Regions from separate parts of the Homo sapiens genome. Here region 1 is linked to region 2. The links are contacts of gene promoters, found by promoter capture Hi-C in blood cells and fetal thymus (Javierre and others, 2016). All regions are on one chromosome and are shown on one strand. The core of a region is centred on a gene start or on the middle of the fragment in contact, and the rest is flanking DNA. Distances in the headings are between cores, read along the strand shown.

What was found. The method cuts DNA at HindIII sites, captures the fragments that hold promoters and counts their contacts. A CHiCAGO score of 5 or more calls a contact.
Region 1: a contact is called between the fragment with the promoter of CD53 here and the fragment with the promoter of LAMTOR5 in region 2, in 10 of 17 cell types (monocytes, M1 macrophages, total B cells and 7 more). The highest score is 10.7, in monocytes.

What each region holds. Positions count from the first base shown.
Region 1 is chr1:110,870,121-110,874,763 of GRCh38, forward strand. It overlaps CD53 (CD53 molecule), which reads left to right and starts at 3,028. Exons shown (of 8, transcript NM_000560.4): 1 at 3,028-3,128. RefSeq lists enhancers at 2,229-2,278, 2,879-2,988, 4,501-4,550. The HindIII fragment of the contact is 4,495 bases long and covers 2,886-4,643 here.
Region 2 is chr1:110,404,869-110,408,949 of GRCh38, forward strand. It overlaps LAMTOR5 (late endosomal/lysosomal adaptor, MAPK and MTOR activator 5), which reads right to left and starts at 2,826. Exons shown (of 4, transcript NM_001382293.1): 1 at 2,718-2,826; 2 at 1,450-1,511. The coding sequence starts at 2,752. It overlaps LAMTOR5-AS1 (LAMTOR5 and SLC16A4 antisense RNA 1), which reads left to right and starts at 2,941. Exons shown (of 3, transcript NR_102697.1): 1 at 2,941-3,086. RefSeq lists an enhancer at 2,768-2,997. The HindIII fragment of the contact is 8,453 bases long and covers 1-4,081 here.

The sequences.
Region 1 (4,643 bases), core at 1,778-4,277, 470 kb after region 2:
GTTCAAGTTTCCTAAACTCTCAGATTCTATTATCATCTATGATGGTGATCAATATACCCCGTATTGAGAAGACCAAGCCATGAGTCTGAGCTTCTGCTAAATGCCTTTTCTAATTTAGTTTTTTCAAAGTTTTTGAGCGTTCTTTTGGGTTATTCAATAACATGGGGTTTCCTGATATTGTCTTATTCTCTATTTGTTTTTGTTCTTGTCCCTCCAAATGAATTCTAAATATCTGATGGTCAGAAACAGAATTAATTCTCAATAAAATTTTATAGGTATGGGTATAAGTGGGCACGTTGTTCTCTACCAAACCCCTAAACCCAGGAAACAGCCACCTCTAGTTGTCCGGCACTTGGAACAACCCTTCCCAGTGAAATGATGGAAAGAGGCACATTCAAGGAAAAATGTTCTGCATTAAAATGGTCACCTATTTTGCTGTGAACAATTTGTCTTGAGATAGTCTTCCCGATATTCCTAAGATTCCCCCTTATTTATCACTTCTCTCTCTGCAGATGTTCAGTCTACCTATCTCTTTCTTCTCCTTACTCTCTCTGCCTGTCCCAAATTTCTGGTTCCCCTAACTTGCAGGCCTCACATTACCTGAAACTATTCAAATATTTATAGAACACCTCTTATGTGCCAGACCCAATACCAGGCACTAAAAATACAGTCATGAGCAAGATCACCCAACATACACAGAGTAACACAGAACCTACAGAGCTTTCAGTCTAGTGGGGAAAACAATGAAAAACAAGGAATGACAGAGGGTGGAGGAATGCCTGTGGGCAATGGGAGCAGAGAGCAGGAGTAACTGTTCCTGCCTGGAGGGCTTTCTGGTGCTATGATGGGGGATGAGTAAGGAATTAAGTGAACAGGTGAGAGGATATTCTAGAGAGAGCTCGTGAGACAGAACTAGATTGATTTGTTTAAGCAACTAAAAGGAATTCCATATCCAGTGTTACCCAGTGTGAGGAGATCTTGGGGGTGGGGCCGGGGAAGAAATAGCCGGCTGAGAGTTTTAAGCTGGGGAGTCATGTGATTAAATTTGCATTTTAGAAGGCTCTCCTCCCTTCTTCCTGAGGACAGACTGAAGAAACATCCAAGGTGGTCTTGAAGGACACTGGGATCCTGTAACACAGGTAAAAGATAAAGACTAATGTAATTTCTATGGGGTTGGAGAGAGGTGGTCTGGTTTGAGAAATATTTAGGCAAAAGCATAACTGACAGGACTTGGTGGCTGATAATAGGTGGTGGTGTGGGAGAGAGAGTAGCTTAAGAGGACACCTGGTTTCTCATGAACGTGGCTGAAAGGCCAGTCAGGCCTTTCCTGGATGGTGGACATGGTGGGAGGAGCAGGCTTGAGTGTGGGGATGCCAAGTTAATCAAACTGAAGTTGGATATTGGATTTGAGGTGCCTGGGAGAGAGTGGAGCTCAAAGGAGAGATCATGGCATCTATATAGATTTGTGAATCTTTGGAACAGACAGATAGTAATTAGAGCCATCAGAATGGGTGAGATAATTAGGAAAATATGAGTTCAGCCAGAAGCCTCTCCTCAGCCCCACCACTTCAGGGACCTGTAAGCATGGCAGCAGCTCTGAGTGAGGGTCAGTGATTCCAGCCGAGGTGCAGAGACTTTTTAATAGCATTCCCTAAAGTGTAGTTACACTGAAAAATTGTTCCCCAAGAGAAACTACACACACACACACACACACACACACACACACACCACACAGTTCCATGCTCAGATAAGTTTGGAGAAATCTATATATTATTTCCCCTGCTTAGAGAATATTAAGGACTGACAAGTTCTGCAGTAAAGACCTTTTTACCTTCATTTAATTCAGTTTTCCCCACAAGACAGCCCTGGCTGGAGATTACTCTGGATCTGAATGTCTCAGGGTGAAGGAAGCGGGAGACAGCTAGCTTTCCCAGAGGCATGCCCGCAAGTCAGCACCGCAGAGTGCATCTATCTGTTCATTTATAAGATGAAAACATTGGGGCCCAGTGATTGCTTCCAAGTTTCATAGTTAGCTAGTGATACATTTGGGTTGTCACATACTCCTTTGACCCAATCTAAGAAAATTCCAGTGATGCAGCATAGTGAAACCAGAAACACATTTTTCAAAATATATTGATCACAGTGTTTCTCAAAAGGCCTTCTCTGTGACCTTGAATTTTAATCCTACCTCTGACATGTCTTAGTTGTATGAGCTTGGGCAAATTTTCTAACCTCTTTGAGCGCCTGTTTTCTTGTATATAAATAAGGATGTAACAGTAACCAGTAGGATTATTATTAGGTGTTACCATTAATAAACTGAGGCTGACAGATTGAGACTTGCTCAAGATCTCACAGCTAAAAGAGATAAAGCTGGAACTGAAACTCAGATCTTTGGCTCCAAATGTGGTGTTTCCTGTACTAACCAAATCATTTCTACCAGTGCCCCTGGGATTATGCCTTGGGGACTCACCTTAAGACAGTCTTGCTCTCGAGACAGAGAAGTCTGCAAATGGTGTCCAATTCAAGTCTAGAGACTGGCTGAAGCCAGACAGAGGGAGTATGAGGAGGGGGCAGAGAATCTTCAGAAAGACATTCCAAAGTCTCGGGCCTAGAAAATGTTTAGAAATATTGGTTCCTGTGTTCCCCTCCAGTCTGTCTACCTGAATGGGAAACTGGTGGTGGGGCCAGGCATACTTCTTTTTGAACAAATACACAGTTAATTCTGAGATGCCACCTTGATTGAGAAGCACTGTCCTTTTCTAAGCAAAAATCATTGCCAAATTACCCTAGAATCCACCACTGCTCACAGATCTGTGCCTGAACCAACTTGGTTTTGAAGTTTTCTTTTGTTTCACAAAACTAGTTTAGGGTGGGCTGTGAGAGGAAGCTTCTAAAAAGCCACTGGGAAAGTACTAAATCTCTGAGACTAAAGAGGGCGGACTCAGCCTCACTTCCTCCTTCTTCTCATCTGGGCTTCCTGTCGTCACAGCATGATCATATTTTTTCACCCTTCACTTCTCCTTTTACACAAATAGCCCCGGATATCTGTGTTACCAGCCTTGTCTCGGCCACCTCAAGGATAATCACTAAATTCTGCCGAAAGGACTGAGGAACGGTGCCTGGAAAAGGTAAGGTTGATGACGTTTTAACTTGGCTTGCTGTCTAATGTGGGGTAGGGCGTATTCTTAGGGGTCTCCATATACCTCTCTAGTAACCATAAAATCTCCGGCAACTTCTCTTTCACAAATATTTAGTGCACAAAGTAAAACAGATTAGCAAGATCCTAGTAACATCCCCAAAGGCAATCAGGCCAGAAATACTTTTACTTAATCAGGTTCCCATTATCTAAATCTCTGAGTCGAGGCATTCACATGCCTTAATTGCTTCAGAGCTTGAATTACTCTGTGTAGTAATTCCTGATGCCTGGAGCTTTCTATGCGAGATGACATTGGGGAGATTTCCTATGTGCTCTGGTCTTCAGAAAATTGGTCTTGTGATTTTAAAGTGAGGAAAGAACCCACAGCCAGAGCTGTCTTTAGAAAGACAGCTAGAAGACACAGTTCTTTTTCATTTGAGAAAATTTCAAAAGTAAATTTAGTGACTCCCACTGTGGTTCTTCAAAGCCACTAAATAGAAAGGTGGCTAAAAATCAAAACACCAGGATGTGCTCAGTAACTGTATTTTAAAAGGTGAAAGCTAGACATCTCTAAAGGATGCATAGATTGTTGGCTTTTAAGGAGCAGGAAGCACATTGGGATCCTCAGCATTTCCCCAAATTATCCTTGGTGTACAAAACATGACCACTGATAAATGTCACATGAAATGCACGTATAAAATGCAATCCCCAAAACTTGATACTGCAGTAATTTCCAATCATGTGCTGTAACTAATGACTGAGGTTGCATGGACTCAGCAAAGTGTTAGCAGAGCTTCGGTCCTGACTCTCTGTGACCACCATCGGAAACTCTATGTAAGAGCTTTCTTCTTCCAAGACCTGTGAGAATTTCACTTGATTATGCCCTGGAGCAGAAAGGAGAAAGTTCTCTTTGATTACACCCACCCATCTAAGTATGAGGATTGGGAACAGGGCAGAGGGCTCTAGATTTCCAAGAGGGGTGGGGACGGGGAGAGGGCTCTGGATTCCCAAAACACCTCAGAGTTTATTGAGCCTTGTATTAAAAAATAAAAAGCAGTCTTTTAAATAAATTCACTTAATAATCAAGTGGTAGGTGCCTCCTGAGGCCAGGCACTGTGCTTTGGGAATTGTGGGGGAGGGAGATGAAAAGGTAGAAGGAGAATATTTGTCTAGCAAACAGTCCTACTCTTAAGGAACTCCCATGGGAGATAAGAGATATCATACTATGCGTGTGCTTTGGAAGAAAGCTGAGAAAAAGCAAACTCCCAGCTGCTGGACAAACAAAGAGGTTTTGCTTTCTCAATCTTGAGGAGAATCTGTACTATTTTGAAATTGTGGTTGAATGGGAGCAAAGACTGAACTGAAACATTATTTCCTGTGATGTTTCCTGTGTGGGCCAGTTAAGAACACTTAATTTTTAAATGAAAGGATTGGGTACCTTTATATTCATGAGGAATGATTCCAAGTTCATGCCTTCACAGCTATGGTTACCACCACCTAAGTGACC
Region 2 (4,081 bases), core at 1,576-4,075:
GAAACCCTGTATCTACTAAAAATACAAAAATTATCTGGGCGTGGTGGCAGGCGCCTGTAATCCCAGCTACTCAGGAGGCTGAGGCAGGAGAATTGCCTGAACCTGGGAAATGGAGGTTGCAGTGAGCCAAGATCGTGCCACTGCACTCTAGCCTGGGCGACAGAGCAAGATTTCGTCTCAAAAAAAAAAAAAAAAAAGTGATTAAGAGGCCTCAGGGCCAGACAAAAATCCTAGCTTAACGACTTACTAGCTGCATGACCTCAGGCAAGTTATTTAACCTCTGTGTCTCAGTTTCTTTTTTTATTTTTTGAGACAGAGTCTCGCTCTTGTCATCCAGGCTGGAGTGCAATGGTGCAATCTCGGCTTACTGCAACCTCTGCCTCCCAGGTTCAAGCGATTCTCCTGCCTCAGCCTCCCGAGTAGCTGGGATTACTAGCACCTGCTACCATGCCTGGCTAATTTTTTTTTGCATTTTTAGTAGAGATGTGGTTTCACCATGTTGGCCAGGCTAGTCTCGAACTCCTGACCTCAGGTGATCCACCCGCCTCCGCCTCCCAAAGTGCTGGGATCACAGGTGTGAGCCACCGCATCCGGCCTCTTTTTTTAAATTTTAAAAACATATATATATGTTTATTGTAAAAATAGAGATGGGGGGTCTCACTGTGTTGCACAGGCTGGTCTTGAACTCCTGGGCTCAAGTGATCTGCCCACCTTGGTCTCCCAAAGTGCTGGGATTACAGGCGTGAGACACTGCACCTGGTCCCTCAATTTCTTTTTCTACCTCACTGGGTTGTTATGAGGAATAAAAGAGTATATGTAAAGCACTTACAATGGTGCTTGGCACATAACAGCTCAATAAATATAATTCTATGATTATTACCATTATCAAATAACAACCCAGTGAAGAAAATGAGGGCCTAAAAGGTAGTTTTTTGGTCCACGTTCACACTACTAACAAATGAAAGAGCAAGGGATTGAGACCAGGTATGTCCAACACTGAAATCCCATTTTACTGCCTATTCACTTCTTGTTTAGTGTAGTTGAGCTTCAAAATTGTACACCACCCACCTTGCCGGGTTGTTGTGAAAATTAAAGATAATGTATTTAGAGCCTAGCAGTCTCAGCATATGGCATACATTCAATAAATGGTTAACAGCTGTTATTATCTGAAGTCCTTTCTAGACTCAATTTAAAATGATTCAAATATTATTTTTAGTAGAGACAACTATTTATTGTTATAGGACTGCAAGGAACATCTTCCTTCATAAATACCAACTGAAAAGTTTCAATTTTCTGATACTGTTATTTGGAGATAATCTCTACTCTCAAACTCAGAAAGACCTGGCAAGGTAACAGGAAATAAAAGCTAGAAAATAATAGCACGCTAGGCTCCAAGTCAACATCAGATGCTATGCAATTCATCAAATAGTTGGTATGAGAGATACTTACAACCCAGATTAAGTCCTTGTGAATCTGTGCACAGGACTCCAACAATGGAGGGATTCTTCATTCTAATTCCAGGAACACAAGAGAGTTGAAGTACATAATGGGAGAAAAAGGATTTAAATAAGTACAAACATACAGGTGTTCTATGTACCAGGCATTAAGTGCTTTAAATCAATATTTCTCAATCTTTTTTCATTGTCACACCCTAAGAAAAAAATTAAGTTCTAGGGCCGGGCGCGGTTGCTCACGCCTGTAATCCCAGCACTTTGGGAGGCCCAGGTGGGCGGATCACCTGAGGTCGGGAGTTCAAGACCAGCCTGACCAACATGGAGAAACCCCGTCTCTACTAAAAATACAAAATTAGCCAGGCGTGGTGGCGCATGACTGTAATCCCAGCTACTCGGGAGGCTGAGGCAAGAGAATCGCTTGAACCTGGGAGGCGGAGGTTGCAGTGAGCCGAGATCACGCCATTGCACTCCAGCCTGGAAGACGAGCGAAATTCCGTCTCAAAAAAAGAACACAAAAAATTTAAGTTCTAGTTAATTAATTGAAATAAACCAGTTTCTCTCTGATGAGAGAAAAAAATGTGCTAAGTACTGCTGAGTTCTGGAGGGCCACAAACACTGCGTGAAAAACATCTAGGATGTTTTCACTCTTGTTAAAAACGCATGTTTTAGTACTAACTCATTTAAAACAACTGTTGAAAAACTCAAGTTACCTCCTGGAGGGTAAGTGGAAGCTGAGGGACATCGGTGGGAGGCAGGTGTCTCTCTGTACCCTTTACACTTTTCCAGTTTTGAATTTTACATAGATACTGCTTGTTCGAAAAATTTAAAGAATGATTTTTATCTACTTAAGCACCAAGTAACTGATAGGTTACACACAGGAGATACGTGTTTGTTTACACTGCAGGGCTCGACACTGCACAACTGGCACAATCTTCCCAAAAGTCAACCCGTTTTCTAAAACTTCCGCAGAACCACCCTGACCGTAAAGACGATTTCAACAACGAGATAGGCAGTTTTGGCCCGTGGCCTGGGCCCGGGAGACTCGCTCAAGAGGGAATGTGCGGTGCCCGGCAGGATTTTAATTCCGGGTCACCCGCCCCGCCCTGCGGCCTTGGGTAGAGTTTAGCCCCCTCATCCCGTGTCCCGGGGGTCGCGCGACGTCCCCGAGACGCCCTGGCCGGTACTCGCAGCTCGCGCCTTTCGTTCCGCTCAAGTTCCTCCGCCGCGACCTCAGGACAGGCCGAAGAGGCGCGCACTACTCACGTGTCTTCCAAGTGCTGCTCCAAGGTCGCCTCCATCCCACCCACCGACCACTCCGGCTCAGAACCCAGCGGCACGGCACGTCCTTCTCCACCACAGGCCTCAGTCACTTGACGCGAGCGGGGCGTGGACCGTAACGGCGCCTCCAAAGGGACAAAATTGATCACGGTGCAACGTCCGCGTTCTTTACTGGAAAACATCACTGCGCTTCCGTCGCACAGAGCCTGACGAAGGCTTGGGCTCCCCGCGCGGTGACCGTCGAGGTGACCTGCACCTGGCTCCATGGCGGAACCGGCCGGCACGGATTATTCCCCTCTCGGGAGAGGTCTGCAGCCGGGCCTCAGTGCTTCAGTTCGTGGCCTGGCATTTTGTGTCAGTGTTTTTTAACCTTTGGACCCTAGTTCAACCGACTCCGAGACCTAGGGGACAGATCTTAAGTTTTACAATAACCCAGGGGTCAGACAGGGTCTGATCTAGCCTGTGGGGCAAGTACGGGGAAGACACGGGACCTCTTGGAGGGGGTCAGTAGGCTTGTAGGGGGAAAGACGCACACAGAGACTAAAGGACGAGATGGAGCAAGGTTCAACCCCCTAGCTGAGTGTTGGCAGTGTCGGGATTTTAACGAAGACATTGGTGCTTATTATGGTGAGGGGACTCAGGACAGTTTAGGGGAAGAGAGTGGCATTTGAGTCCTAACTCGTAAGGAAGACTGGGTAGGACTACTTGAAAATAACTTTTAAAAATTAATTATAAAGCTGGTAAAAATAGGAAAACATCTATGGCCCCACTGTCCAAAGACGACTTTTAACTTCTTGGAGAATATCCTTTCAGATAGTTGTCTTTGTAAATGTATACTTTTAATGTTTTTTCGTTTGCCTTTTTAAAATAAATTTTTTGGGGGACAGGGTCTTGCTCTGTTACCCAGGCTGTAGTGCAGTAGAACGATTATAGCTCATTGCAACCCGGACGTCCTGGGTTCAAGCTATCCTCACCTCTCAGCCTCTCGACTGGCTAGGACCACAGCCTCGAGCCATCATGTCTGGCTAATTTTTACGTTTTTTTGTAGAGATGGGGGTCTCGCTGTGTTGTCCAGGCTGGTCTTAAACTCCTTGCTTCAACAGATCCTCCCACTCCAGCCTCCCAAAATGTGATTACAGGCTGAGTCACCACGCCTAGCATGGTTTTTTTTGTTTTGTTTGTTTTGTAAGCAAAATTGACATACATACTGGAGGTACAATTCTGTAGCTGGCCTTCTTTACAGAGTTTAGAATAAATGTCTTTCCATGTCAAGTTTTCACTTACATCCTTTGTAGTAGTTGCAAAATATTCCATTTTATAGCTGTATCTTAATTGTGGATTAAGGTTGG